Regions from separate parts of the Homo sapiens genome. Here all the other regions are linked to region 1. Evidence: promoter capture Hi-C in 16 types of primary human blood cells and fetal thymus (Javierre and others, 2016). All regions are on one chromosome and are shown on one strand. The core of a region is centred on a gene start or on the middle of the fragment in contact, and the rest is flanking DNA. Distances in the headings are between cores, read along the strand shown.

Region 1 (3,858 bases), core at 567-3,066:
CTTCTTCATATTTCACAAAGAATACACTGGGATTAGTCTTCCAGACTCCAAGCCATTTGTCTTTCAACTTTAATTTTTCTGATAGGTATTTACCCATAACTTCATCAGCATCTTCTGCCTAACAAGAGAAAAAATGGATCTACATATAAATATATGAAATTATAGATTTTAAACTAAGTGGTTTTTTTTTTTTTTACTGATTTCTATTTTAAAATGGAACCAATATAGCCTTAAATAATGAATGACCTGGAAAATTACAGATTTTAACTGAAACCGCATCTAGTGGAAAACATCACCAACAAAAAATTAAACTTAAAAGAGATCTATTCACTCGAATAATTCATAGATAAGACAGCTAGTTATTGTTTATGTCTTAATTTTCAACTTTTTATAAATATCACTGCAGTGAATATGCAGGTACACAAATTCTTCTGCTACAACTTAAAAAAATAGGTTAGAAACATGAAATATTTGCTCTATTCCGTTTTATCAGATATGTATTTTCTATAAAAGAAAGTCATGCCACCAGGCACGGTGGCTCATGCCTGTAATCCCAACACTTTGGGAGGCCGAAGCGGGCAGATTACCTGAGGTCGGGAGTTCGAGTCCAGCCTGACCAACTGGAGAAACCCCATCTGTACTAAAAAAAAATACAAAATTAGCCAGGCGTGGTGGCTCATGCCTGTAATCCCAGCTACTCGGGAGGCTGAGGCAGGAGAATTGCTTGCACCGGGAGGCGGAGGTTGTGTGAGCCGAGATTGCCCCACTGCATTCCGGCATGGGCAACAAGAATGAAACTCCGTCTCCAAAAAAAAAAAAAAAAAAAAAAAAAAAAAAAAAAAATATATATATATATATATATATATATATATATATATATATATATACACACACACACACACACACACACATTTATATATATATATACACACACATATATATCATGCCGCATTGTGGACTGCTGAGTGGGAAGTACCCTTAAAGTAATTTCTAGCATTCTAGTGTAAAAGTCAAGGCTAAGTGATCTTACTCATGTTTGGACATAAACTGTTAAATAAAGGTACCAAGATTCATGCCTGTGCAATGATAAGGCCAATATATCTTCATTTTTTAGGAGCTCTCAGAAAATTCTCTCTCAGGGCTGTCCCGTTACCTGACGAATTTTGTCGGAAACTCGAACCTTAACTCCTCTAGGGCAGGACGCGGGCACCTCTAACAAGGTGAACGCTCTATACATGTTGACTCCATTTACTTTTTTGAAACGCAAGTTTTCGTTGTGCCCTGTGGATCCCCATCCGCCTAAGAGGGAAGCCCCAGATGCCTGTCCCCAGGTTCCGACGAGCTTCCGACCGTAGTCTTCCTGTCCCGGATCCGCTCACCTTACAGTCCTGCAGCACTTCGTCGCAATACAGCGACACCTTCTCGTCCCGCCACATCCCCCTCATACGGGACACGCAGACTGGGGGCAGGGGCTGCGCCTCCTCTTCATCCTCAGGCACTGGCAGCAGGGGCTCCTCCGCCGCCGCCGCCGCCGCCTCTCCCGTGTCCTCGGCCTGAGCCGCGGGCAGGCGCTGGAGCCGCAGCCTGGCCGTCTCCCGGCCCGCTTTCCCCTTCACCGGGCGAGGGGAGGCCACCACCGACCGCACTGGGATCGCGGTGCCCTTCAGGGTGGTCGCGGCCGCCGTGTCCCCGGAGACAGCGGAGGCGGACTTCTCGCCTCGCCTGTCCGGGCTGATGGTGCGGAATGAGTCCGCGGGCACCGAGGCCTTGGAGCCCGACGCCATCTCCTCAGCAGCCCGAGGGCCGAGGCAGCCGTTGGCCACTTTTCCCGCCCTCGGCCGCTCTGGCCAATAGGCGCTCTGCGCTTCAGGCCCGCAACGAGCGGCTGCTCGAGGGCGTCCCGCCGGGTGGGGTGTTGCGGCTCTGGGAGGGATGTGAGGCGCGGCCCAGAGCTAGGGGGTGCGGGGCCTGCGGGTAGAGCGCGGGGTCCTGCGGACGCATTCAGGGTGCTGGGGGGCGCTGCTCAGAGCTAGGTGGGACAGGGCGAAGCGCCTGGGCTCAGGACAGGGGTGGGGGGGCCCGGGTCAGTGTTGGGTGCGGCTCCGTGCCGAACCCCCACCAGGTGCCGCACACACCAGAAGGTGCCAGACGAGCCCAACGCAATGGCTCTAACCCCAGCCCTCTGTCTCCCCCAGGGGAGGTTTCCTTAGGGTCCTCATACGTTTCAGGGTGATTATGAGTCACCTTCCAGGTCATCAGGACCTAAAAAAATGCTCCACCTACCACTCCACAAACAAAGCCTGAAAGAAAATTTATTTTCATACTGGGAGGTGACACTAACTGGAACCCTCTGGCTATTACTAGAGGAAACCCTAGTGACAAATCCAGCAACCTAGATTTCCCTTTTAGCCCCCACCTATTACAGGGTTCACCAAATAGGATTTCCTTTACATTTTAAATAGGACTTTCACTTTTTGCCAAGATGTGGTCATACCAAGGAGAAGTTAGTCTGTTTTCTTGTCTCTGTTGTGCTATTCAAAATTCTCACATAAAAGATTATATTATATAACTGTTAAACTGGACAACAACTTCCAGCTGGGAGTGATGTGTGCAAACTATGAACACTTTCACGATAAAAGTCTGTTCCAGATCATACATTTTGGAGAACAACAGAGACCACTCACTTCTGGTATTTTACTGTTGAATGTATATTGAGCCAATTGGAATTAACGTTTGTTCACAGTCTAGCTGTGAAATACTGCACTGAAGCTGACAGCTCCCAAGGAGAACAGCATTGGGAAAACACCTGCCTTCCTTCACACTCGTCTGGAAGAACACTATGTTAAATTCTGAGTTTATTTTGAGGAAAATATTAACATCATGTGGCTGGGCGCGGTGGCTCACGCCTGTAATCCCAGCGCTTTGGGAGGCCGAGGCGGGCGGATCACAAGGTCAGGAGATCGAGACCATCTTGGCTAACACGGTGAAACCCCGTCTCTACTAAAAATACAAAAAATTAGCCGGGCGCAGTGGCGGGCGCCTGTAGTCCCAGCTACTCGGGAGGCTGAGGCAGGAGAATGGCGTGAACCTGGGAGGCGGAGCTTGCAGTGAGCCGAGATTGCGCCACTGCAATCCGGCCTAGGCTAAAGAGCGGGACTCCGTCTCAAAAAAAAAAAAAAAAAAAAAATTAACATCATGTTACTGTAGTTTAGGGAATAATTACAACATGCATCATGTTTCAATTCTATTCTTACTTTATTCCTTTCGTTGAGTCCTGGACTTTGTTTATAACAATACTAACTGCATATTTCACTCACACACACACACACAAATGTTTTACTCTAGTGTTTCTTCAAAAGTTTGTTTTTGATAAATTATGGGTTTTTTAATTCTTAGGTTCTGAATAATAAAGACCACCTGTCCTGGGCCAAAGTTTAAAAACAGCAACAGCTCCCTTTTCCTCCAAAAGGCAAATACTTGTTAGAAATCTGTTACATGCCACACAATGCGTAGATGCCACAGTTATAGAGGTAAAAGACCAAATCCCTGCCCTCGTAATCCTAGTGAAAGATACAGATGGGTCAGTAGATGATTGTGTTTGGTAAGGACCATGCTTTTATTTATGTAAATACACATAAATACATACATATATATATTTATATACACACAAATAATTTGTATTTATTTATGTGTGTATATATATGCGTGTGTGTGTGTGTGTGTGTGTGTATATATATACACATATATTCCACATTGTAGGAGAAAAGGACCTTTCTTCTCCAAAGAAGGGATACTTAAGCTGAGTTTTTAAAACAACTTTTTTCTTTTTTTTTGCCTCCCAAAGAAATTTAGCTTGTT
Region 2 (3,858 bases), core at 809-3,308, 380 kb after region 1:
CCGCCTCCCAGGTTCAAGCGATTCTCCTGCCTCAGCCTCCTGAGTAGTTGGGATTACAGGCACCCACCACCAAGCCCAGCTAATTTTTGTATTTTTAGTGGAGATGGGGTTTCACCATGTTGGCCAGGCTGGTCTCGAACTCCTGACCTCAAGTGATCCGCCCATCTCAGCCTCCCAAAGTGCTGGGATTACAGGCATGAGCCACCGCACCTGGCCCAAGGCCACCCATTCTTCAGGTCGTGACCCAAACTGCCAGGACAGCTAAGCCCTGGGGTTGGGAGACTCCACGGTGCCCTAGTAAGGAAGCTCTGGGCTGACTTCCTGTCTGTTCTGGGTCAGGAAAAAGTTACATGATATTGTCCTAAGTGGAGAGAGTTAAGGAACTGGAGCACAACTTGGAATTAGATTAACATAAAAATCTGATTCAGCCAGGTCTCTCAGCTCCTCACTACATCAATTAATAACAATTGTCAAGTATAACCTACCAGGTACCTTACAGGTATCTCCTCATTTAATCCACTGAACTGTTGCATTATTCCCGTTTTACTGGGCTTCTGTGAAAAGTCACCGAACAATCACAACCAAAATAACAATTCCCCAAACAACTAGTTTCCTTCTTCTTGTTAGATCCCGTCTCTGTTAACAGCAACACCATCTACTCAGATGTCCAAATTAAAAAGTTCTGGTAGAAACAACATGGTCTCTTTCTACTCTATACCTCTGCACAAATCCGGCCCTATGTCTTGAAAAATCTATACCTCCAGCTGTGGATGCAAATAGGAAGGAAATAGCCCTTCACTCATTAGTGTAAAATGTGAATGAACCACCAACATGGCCACCACCTGAGTCTCCTCTGCACCCCTCTGTGGCAAGGTGATGTGAGGAAGCTCTTTTTCTGATTATGGATGCTTTTGCAACAGCCAAGCTTGAAGATGTTTCTGCTGTAGTCATCTTCAGTTCCAGCTTGGCTATGTTTCCTTGGGATAGACATGGGAGAAATGTCTATATAATGCCTTCCTAAAGCTTGGGAAAAATAGAACTTCCCTGGTGTCCCAGGATGGGGTTAGTTGATCATGCCTTTGTGCTGCCACATTGCGCATACTCCTTTTTGCAGTTATCCCTGTGTACTTCATTCATTTTATTTCATTATTTTTACTATATGTTTTGCCAACTAGATTATAGGGTCTCAGAAGTCAGGATCATGTCTAATATATCTTCTGATCCCAAGTCTAACCAGTGCTTGACACATTACAGGCACCCATCAATGTTTGTTGGATAAATAATCTGTGAATACAATAGGCTGGCCTATCTTTGGGCACAGGATGATCTCAGGAGATACGGAGGTTTACAAGGAGAGTAGGAGGGAGAGACCTTCACAACAAGGGTATCTGAACTCTGTGAAACTCATTTCTGTGAGAAACTAAAAGAGTCTGAAATTCTTCCCTAAATGTGTGTGATTTCTTCTCATACCAACTTTATTCCCTGGCAACAGGCTGTAATGTTTTCCTAAATCAGCCCAGTGAACTTAGGCTTGTTGGGTTTTAACCAACAGTAGCACTGTAGTGTTACTAGAGTAGTGCCACAATCAAATCTAAGCCTAATAGACTAGGATGAAAGTCATTTAATAACAAAAAGACAAACAAGGCAATTAAAAGAAAATGTATGAAAACTTGAACGGACATTTCACAAAAGAAGATATATATAAGTGGCCAATAACCACATGACAAAGTACTCAGTGTCATTAGAAATCAAATAAATGCAAAAGAAAATTACAATGAGATACCACCTCATACCAGTTTGAAAAACCAATATGTGTTAAAACCTTTTTATTTTGAAAATAATTGTAGCTTCACAGGAAGTTGCAAAGAGAGTATAGAGAGAATACTCTTCACCCAATTTCCCCCACTGGTTATATATCATATCACTTCATATGGATTTGAAAACCTACAATTAAAAAGACTGACATTACCAAATATTGTTGGTGATAGGGAGGAACTGGAATTCTCATACGTTGCTGGTAGGATTGTCAAATGGCAACCACTTTGGAAAACCATGCAGTAGTTCTTTACAAAGTTAAACAAACACCAGATGATTCAGCAATTCTATTCCTAAATACTTACCTAAAAGAAATGAAAACCTGTGACCACAAAAATACTTACACAAGAATGTTTCTAGCAGTTGTGTTTACAATAGCTACAAACCAGAAACAACCCAAATGTTCATCAATAGGAAATTGGAGAAATAAACTGTGGTAGATTCAAACAATGGAATACTTCATAGCAACACAAAAGGATACAATCTACTACTTGCAAGAACACAGATAAGTCTGTTGGGAGTAGAAAGCCAAATACAAAACAATGTATACTGTTTAATTTCATTAAACTAAAGGTCAAGAATGCAAAACTAATCTATAGTGACAAAAATCAGAATAGCTGCCTACAGGGAATAAGGACTGCCTGGAAGGGAGCAGGGGAAATCTTTCTGGGGTGATTAGAATGGTCTGTATCTTGATTGGAGAGTTGGTTACACAGGTGTATTTGTCAAAATTCAGTGACTTGAACATTTAAGATCTGTGCTTGCCACTCTATGTAAATATTTTCCTTAATTTTTAAAAATGAAAATAATGGGAAAAAAGATTTCTACAATAAGAGAGAAAGAATGACATAGTGAAGGGATAAAAATATGAAAAAAATTAGGAAGAGAGAAAATCCTGCTGTTTACTACCTGTCAGTAGTAGTATATTTTTAAAATCATGACTATGTTTTACTTTGATGAAAATACAACAACAAATTTATCTCTTTAAACTTCAAAATCCTCACATCACTATTTGATATATTATTTAGTGTTATCATTATCACACAGGTTCTATAAAGAAAAAACCCAAGACATAAAGAGGTTGAGTCATTTACTAAGAAATAAGACCTTGAATCTAGGTTTGCCTACTACCAATAATCTTAACCACCTCCTCTCCACAGCAAAAAAAAAAAAAAAAAAAATACCATACATTTGAGAAGCATCTGTAATTGAGAGTTGCCATCAGTTTGTGGGCTTTTATAATTATTCCTTCAAGAGTAATGCACCAAGGATTCAGCCGAAGCTTCTCTCTGCTGGCAACAATCGTTTCCTGCTCCATTTTTAAATGTTTAATCACTTAGATACCTTTTGCCATCAATACTTTCCATCCATTTGCACTTTTATTGCCATTTTCCAAGGGTCTAAATGCCTCGTAGATGATTCTAGATGTCACAAACCTGGCTTCTTTGTAGAGAGAGGCCTGTGCTGTGCTTAGATGTTTAATGCAAAAGTAGTGGAAATGCTGGGATGTGCATACACTTGTCAGACTGTTTCTTTATTTGCTAGTGAAATCTAAGGAATAAACTGGTTGTTCTCTTATTATTGATTTCAAATAGATCCCCTCTCTAAAGAAAGGTTATGCCATGAACTATAACAATGGAAATGTTGCCAGGCACACTGACCTGCATCTGTAGTCCTAGCTACAGGAGGATCACTGGAGCCCAGACCAGCCCAGGCAACATAGTGAGACCCCCATCTCTTTAAAAAAAAAAAAAAAAAAAGCAAATGCTACAGGATACAGATAGAAAAGTGGGAATAGATCTGACAGATCATTAACCGTGAGGCAGATATCATAACTCTGAGTTCTTCAGATGAATCAGGGTGCATCTGAAAACTGCAAGACACTAGATTCTACTTGAAAGCTAGAAAGAAATTCTGAGATCATTTATTCCAAATACCCTCACTTTGCACATGAAAAAATTAGGTGTGGGGTTGAGGAGAAATGACAACAGTGTAGAAATAGCATAGGAGTTTCTATTTAAAAACCTTAGCTTTATGTTCTGG
Region 3 (3,858 bases), core at 434-2,933, 300 kb after region 1:
TAAATTTATTCCTAAGGGTTTTTTTTTTTTTTTTTTTCAGACAGAGTCTCACTCTGTCACCCAGGCAGGCATGCAATGGTGTGATCTTGACTCACTGCAACCTCAGCCTCCTGGGTTCAAGTGATTCTCCTACCTCGGCCTCCCGAGTAGCTCGGATTACAGGCACAAGCCACAATGCCCAGCTAATTTTTGTATTTCTGTTAGAGACAGGGTTTCACCATATTGGCCAGACTGGTCTCTAACTCCTAACCTCAAGTGATCCACCTGCCTCCGCCTCCCAAAGTGCTGGGATTATAGGTGTGAGCCACCGTGCCTGGCTGTCTAACTGCTATTGATAGTACTTTCAGTACTTTGCTGAATGGAAGTGGGAATAGTGGGCATTCTTGCTTTATATCAGGTCTTAGAGGAAAAGCTTTCATTTTCTCCCCATTGATTATAATGTTAGCTGTGGGTTTTTTAAAAAAAATAAAATAAATTGCCTTGCCGGGAGTGGTGGCTCACGCGTGTAATCCCAGCACTTTGGGAGGCTGAGGCAGGCAGATCACGAGGTCAGGCGTTCGAGCCCAGTCTGGCCAACATAGCGAAACCCTGTCTCTACCAAAAATACACAAAAAATTAGCTGGGCATGGTAGTGTGTGCCTGTAATCCCAGCTACTTAGGAGGCTGAGGCAGGAGAATCACGTGAACCCAGGAGGCGGAGGTTGCAGTGAGCAGAGATTGTGCCACTGCACTCCAGCCTGGGTGACAGAACCAGACTCCATCTCAAAAAAAATAATAAAAAAATTAAAAAATTTAAAAAATGGCCTTCGTTATGTTGAGAAACTTTCCTTCTATATTTAAACTGTTAAGAATCTTTATCAAGAAAGGATGTTGAACTTTGTCCAATGCTTTATCTGCATCAATTGATATGGTCATGTGGTTTTATCTTTCAGTCTATTTATGTGATGTATCACACTGACTGATTTGCATATGTTAAACCAGCCTTGTGTGCCAGGGATAAATCCTACTTGATCATCATGTATAAGCTTCATGTTGTGTTGTTGAATTCAATTTGCTAATGTTTTATTGAGGACTTTTACATCAATGCTCATCAGAAATATTGGCCTACAGTTTTCTTTTCTTGTGGTGTCTTTTTTTTTCTGTTGCCCAGGCTGGAGTGCAGCAGCGCATGATCTCAGTTCACTGCAACCTCTGCCTTCTGGGTTCAAGTGATTCTTCTGCCTCAGCCTCCCAAGTAGCTGGGATTACAGTCACGTGCCACCATGCCTGGATAATTTTTGTATTTTTAGTAGAGATGGGGTTTAACCATATTAGCCAGACTCATCTTGAACTCCTGACCTCAAGTGATCGATCTGCCTTGGCCTCCCAAAGTGCTAGGATTACAGGCATGAGCCACTGTGCCTGGCCTCTTTGGTGTCTTTATCTGGCTTAGGTATCAAAGGCGATGCTGGCCTCGTAGAATGTGCTAGGAGGTATTCCTTCCAGCTGTATTTCTTTGAAGAGTTTAAAATGTATAGGCCAGGCGTAGTGGTTCATGCCTGTAATACCAGCACTTTGGGAGGCCGAGGTGGGTGGATCACAAGCTCAGGAGTTCAAGACCAGCCTGGCCAACATAGTAAAACCCTGTCTCTACCAAAAATACAAAAATTAGCTGGGTGTGGTGGCAGGCACCTGTAATCCCAGCTACTTGGGAGGCTGAGGCAGGAGAATCACTTGAACCCGGGACGCGGAGGTTGCAGTGAGCCAAGATCACGCTATTGCACTCCAGCCTGGGCGACAGAGTGAGACTCTGTCTAAAAAAAGAAGTATTGGTATTAATTATTCTTTGAAAATTTGGTAGAATTCAGCTCTGAAGTCATCTGGTCCTGGGCTTTTCTTTGTTGGGAAGTTTTTAATTACTACTTCAATCTATTTGTTATTGGTCTGTTCAGGCTATTCCTGATTCAATCTTGCCAGATTATCTTTTTAAAGGAATTTATCCCTGCCCTCTAGGTTACCAAATTTGTTTGCATATAATTGTTCATAATAATTCCTTATGATCCATCTTATTTCTGAGACATCTGTTATAATGTCTACACTTTCATTTCTGATTTTATATATTTGAGTCTTTTTTTCAGTCTAGATAAAGGTTTGTCAATTTTGTTTTTTTTTTTCAAAAAACCAACTCTTCATTTTATTAATTTTTTCTATGGTTTTTCTATTCTCTATTTAGTTTTGCTCTAATCTTTATTATTTCCTTCCTTTGGGTTTAGTTTGTTCTTCTTTTTCTAGTTCCTTAAGGCATAATGCTAGGCAATTTATTTGGGGTCTTTCTTCTGTTTTAATGGGAGCAATTATTGTTAGAAGCTTTCCTCTTAGAACTATCCTTAGTTTATCCTTTTGGGTTCCTCTGCATGCTGGCCTCAAGAGTATGAATTCTCTTCCAGGGATTTTTGGGATTCACTGCATCTTTTCCTTCCTACAGGAGCCCATGGAGGAGAGGCACCAACAGGTATAAAGGACTCCAGTGACACATTTTGGCTTCTGCACAGTTTTTTTCCAGCCTTGGTCTGCCTACTTCCTGTTCTCTCCTAACACAATAGTCTAGGTGTCAGACCCAAACGAACTATTTGTAAAAATTCATATACGCCTCCACATACGTAGATTCTAAAAGGCATCTGAGCCCTGCCTGTGAGATCTCACTGGAGACCAGCTCACTGCCTTTCAATGCATGCACTGCCCTTGAAACCACCTTTGCAAAATTATGACTGAGGCAGTGAAAGAGATCTAACTTAACCGACTCCATCTTGCTTCTAACCTCCAAGCTGTCCTTGTTCCTGGTGTAGGCTGAACTAACTTCAGGAGAAACTTAGTTTATAGTTTATAGTTTGGGAGAAACTTAGTTTATAGTTTAAAAAAGAGGACAACAGCCCTTTCCCAAAGCAGACCTCCTTCTTGCCTAGGGACTAGATTGACTTTGTAGGACTAACATTAGCCACAAGGTTAGAAATTACGGTTTAGGAGTCATGCAGCTGAAGGCTACAAGATCTGACCCTCCCTAAACTGCTCCTAAGATCAGTGTTTGCAATATTTTGTAGACCCTGCACTTGATGGACCAGCTGGCACCACCCAGATCAATAAACTGGCTTATTTGAATTTGCGGCCCCCCACCCAGGAACTGACTCAGTGCAAGAAGACAGCTTCGACTCCCTGTGATTTCATCTCTGACCAATCCGCACTCCTGGCTCACTGGCTTCCCCAACCCATGAAGTTTTCCTTAAAAACTCTGCTCCCGAAATGCTCAGGGAGACTGATTTGATAACAATAAAACTCTGGTCTCCCGCACAGCCGGCTCTGCGTGAATTACTCTTTCTCTATTGCAATTCCCCTGTCTTGATGAATCTGCTCTGTCTAGGCAGCGAGCAAGGTGAACCCCTTGGGTGGTTACACCCTGACCTTGCAAGCTAGGTCCCTAAGTGCCTCCTCACATAGTTTTTGAAAAAGTGTGTATACCTGTGGCTCTGAAGCAGATTCCTAAGCCCACCCCCCATATATTCTGACTCAGTGGGACTGGGCAGGACACAGGAATTTGTACTGTTGTGTAACTCTGCATGGCGACTCTAATGTGCAGCCATGTTTGGAACCACATGCTGCCCCTCTCCGCTTATTGCCCATTGCTTCTGCCCTCACCTCACAGTGGATGTTACCCTTGTGAGTGTCTCTGTAATTGCCTTCCAGGGAAGAAGGCAATTACTTTTTAAAGTCCTGGTCTCATTTGATTTCTCTGAAAGATGTGACACAGATGGCAATGCTCTCCATCTTTGTCCCCTCTCTCACCTTGGCTTCTGGGCCACCACTGCCGGTGGTCCAGTGGTTTCT

Evidence for each region. Contacts are between HindIII fragments. The CHiCAGO score rates a contact against its expected background, and 5 or more counts as called.
Region 2: a contact is called between a fragment that was not itself captured here and the fragment with the promoter of SHCBP1L in region 1, in 1 of 17 cell types (endothelial precursors). The highest score is 7.8, in endothelial precursors.
Region 3: a contact is called between a fragment that was not itself captured here and the fragment with the promoter of SHCBP1L in region 1, in 1 of 17 cell types (M1 macrophages). The highest score is 7.0, in M1 macrophages.

What each region holds. Positions count from the first base shown.
Region 1 is chr1:182,951,350-182,955,207 of GRCh38, forward strand. SHCBP1L (SHC binding and spindle associated 1 like) reads right to left here and starts at 1,817. Exons shown (of 10, transcript NM_030933.4): 1 at 1,380-1,817; 2 at 1-118. The coding sequence starts at 1,784. It also overlaps the pseudogene LOC100271717. The HindIII fragment of the contact is 6,039 bases long and covers 1-3,858 here.
Region 2 is chr1:183,334,594-183,338,451 of GRCh38, forward strand. All of the region lies in intron 1 of NMNAT2 (nicotinamide nucleotide adenylyltransferase 2), which reads right to left. Among named protein-coding and RNA genes, the nearest start is that of NMNAT2, 82 kb to the right of the region's middle. The HindIII fragment of the contact is 2,074 bases long and covers 1,022-3,095 here.
Region 3 is chr1:183,255,645-183,259,502 of GRCh38, forward strand. All of the region lies in intron 10 of NMNAT2 (nicotinamide nucleotide adenylyltransferase 2), which reads right to left. It also overlaps a transcript of LAMC2 not described here. Among named protein-coding and RNA genes, the nearest start is that of LAMC2, 71 kb to the left of the region's middle. The HindIII fragment of the contact is 1,321 bases long and covers 1,024-2,344 here.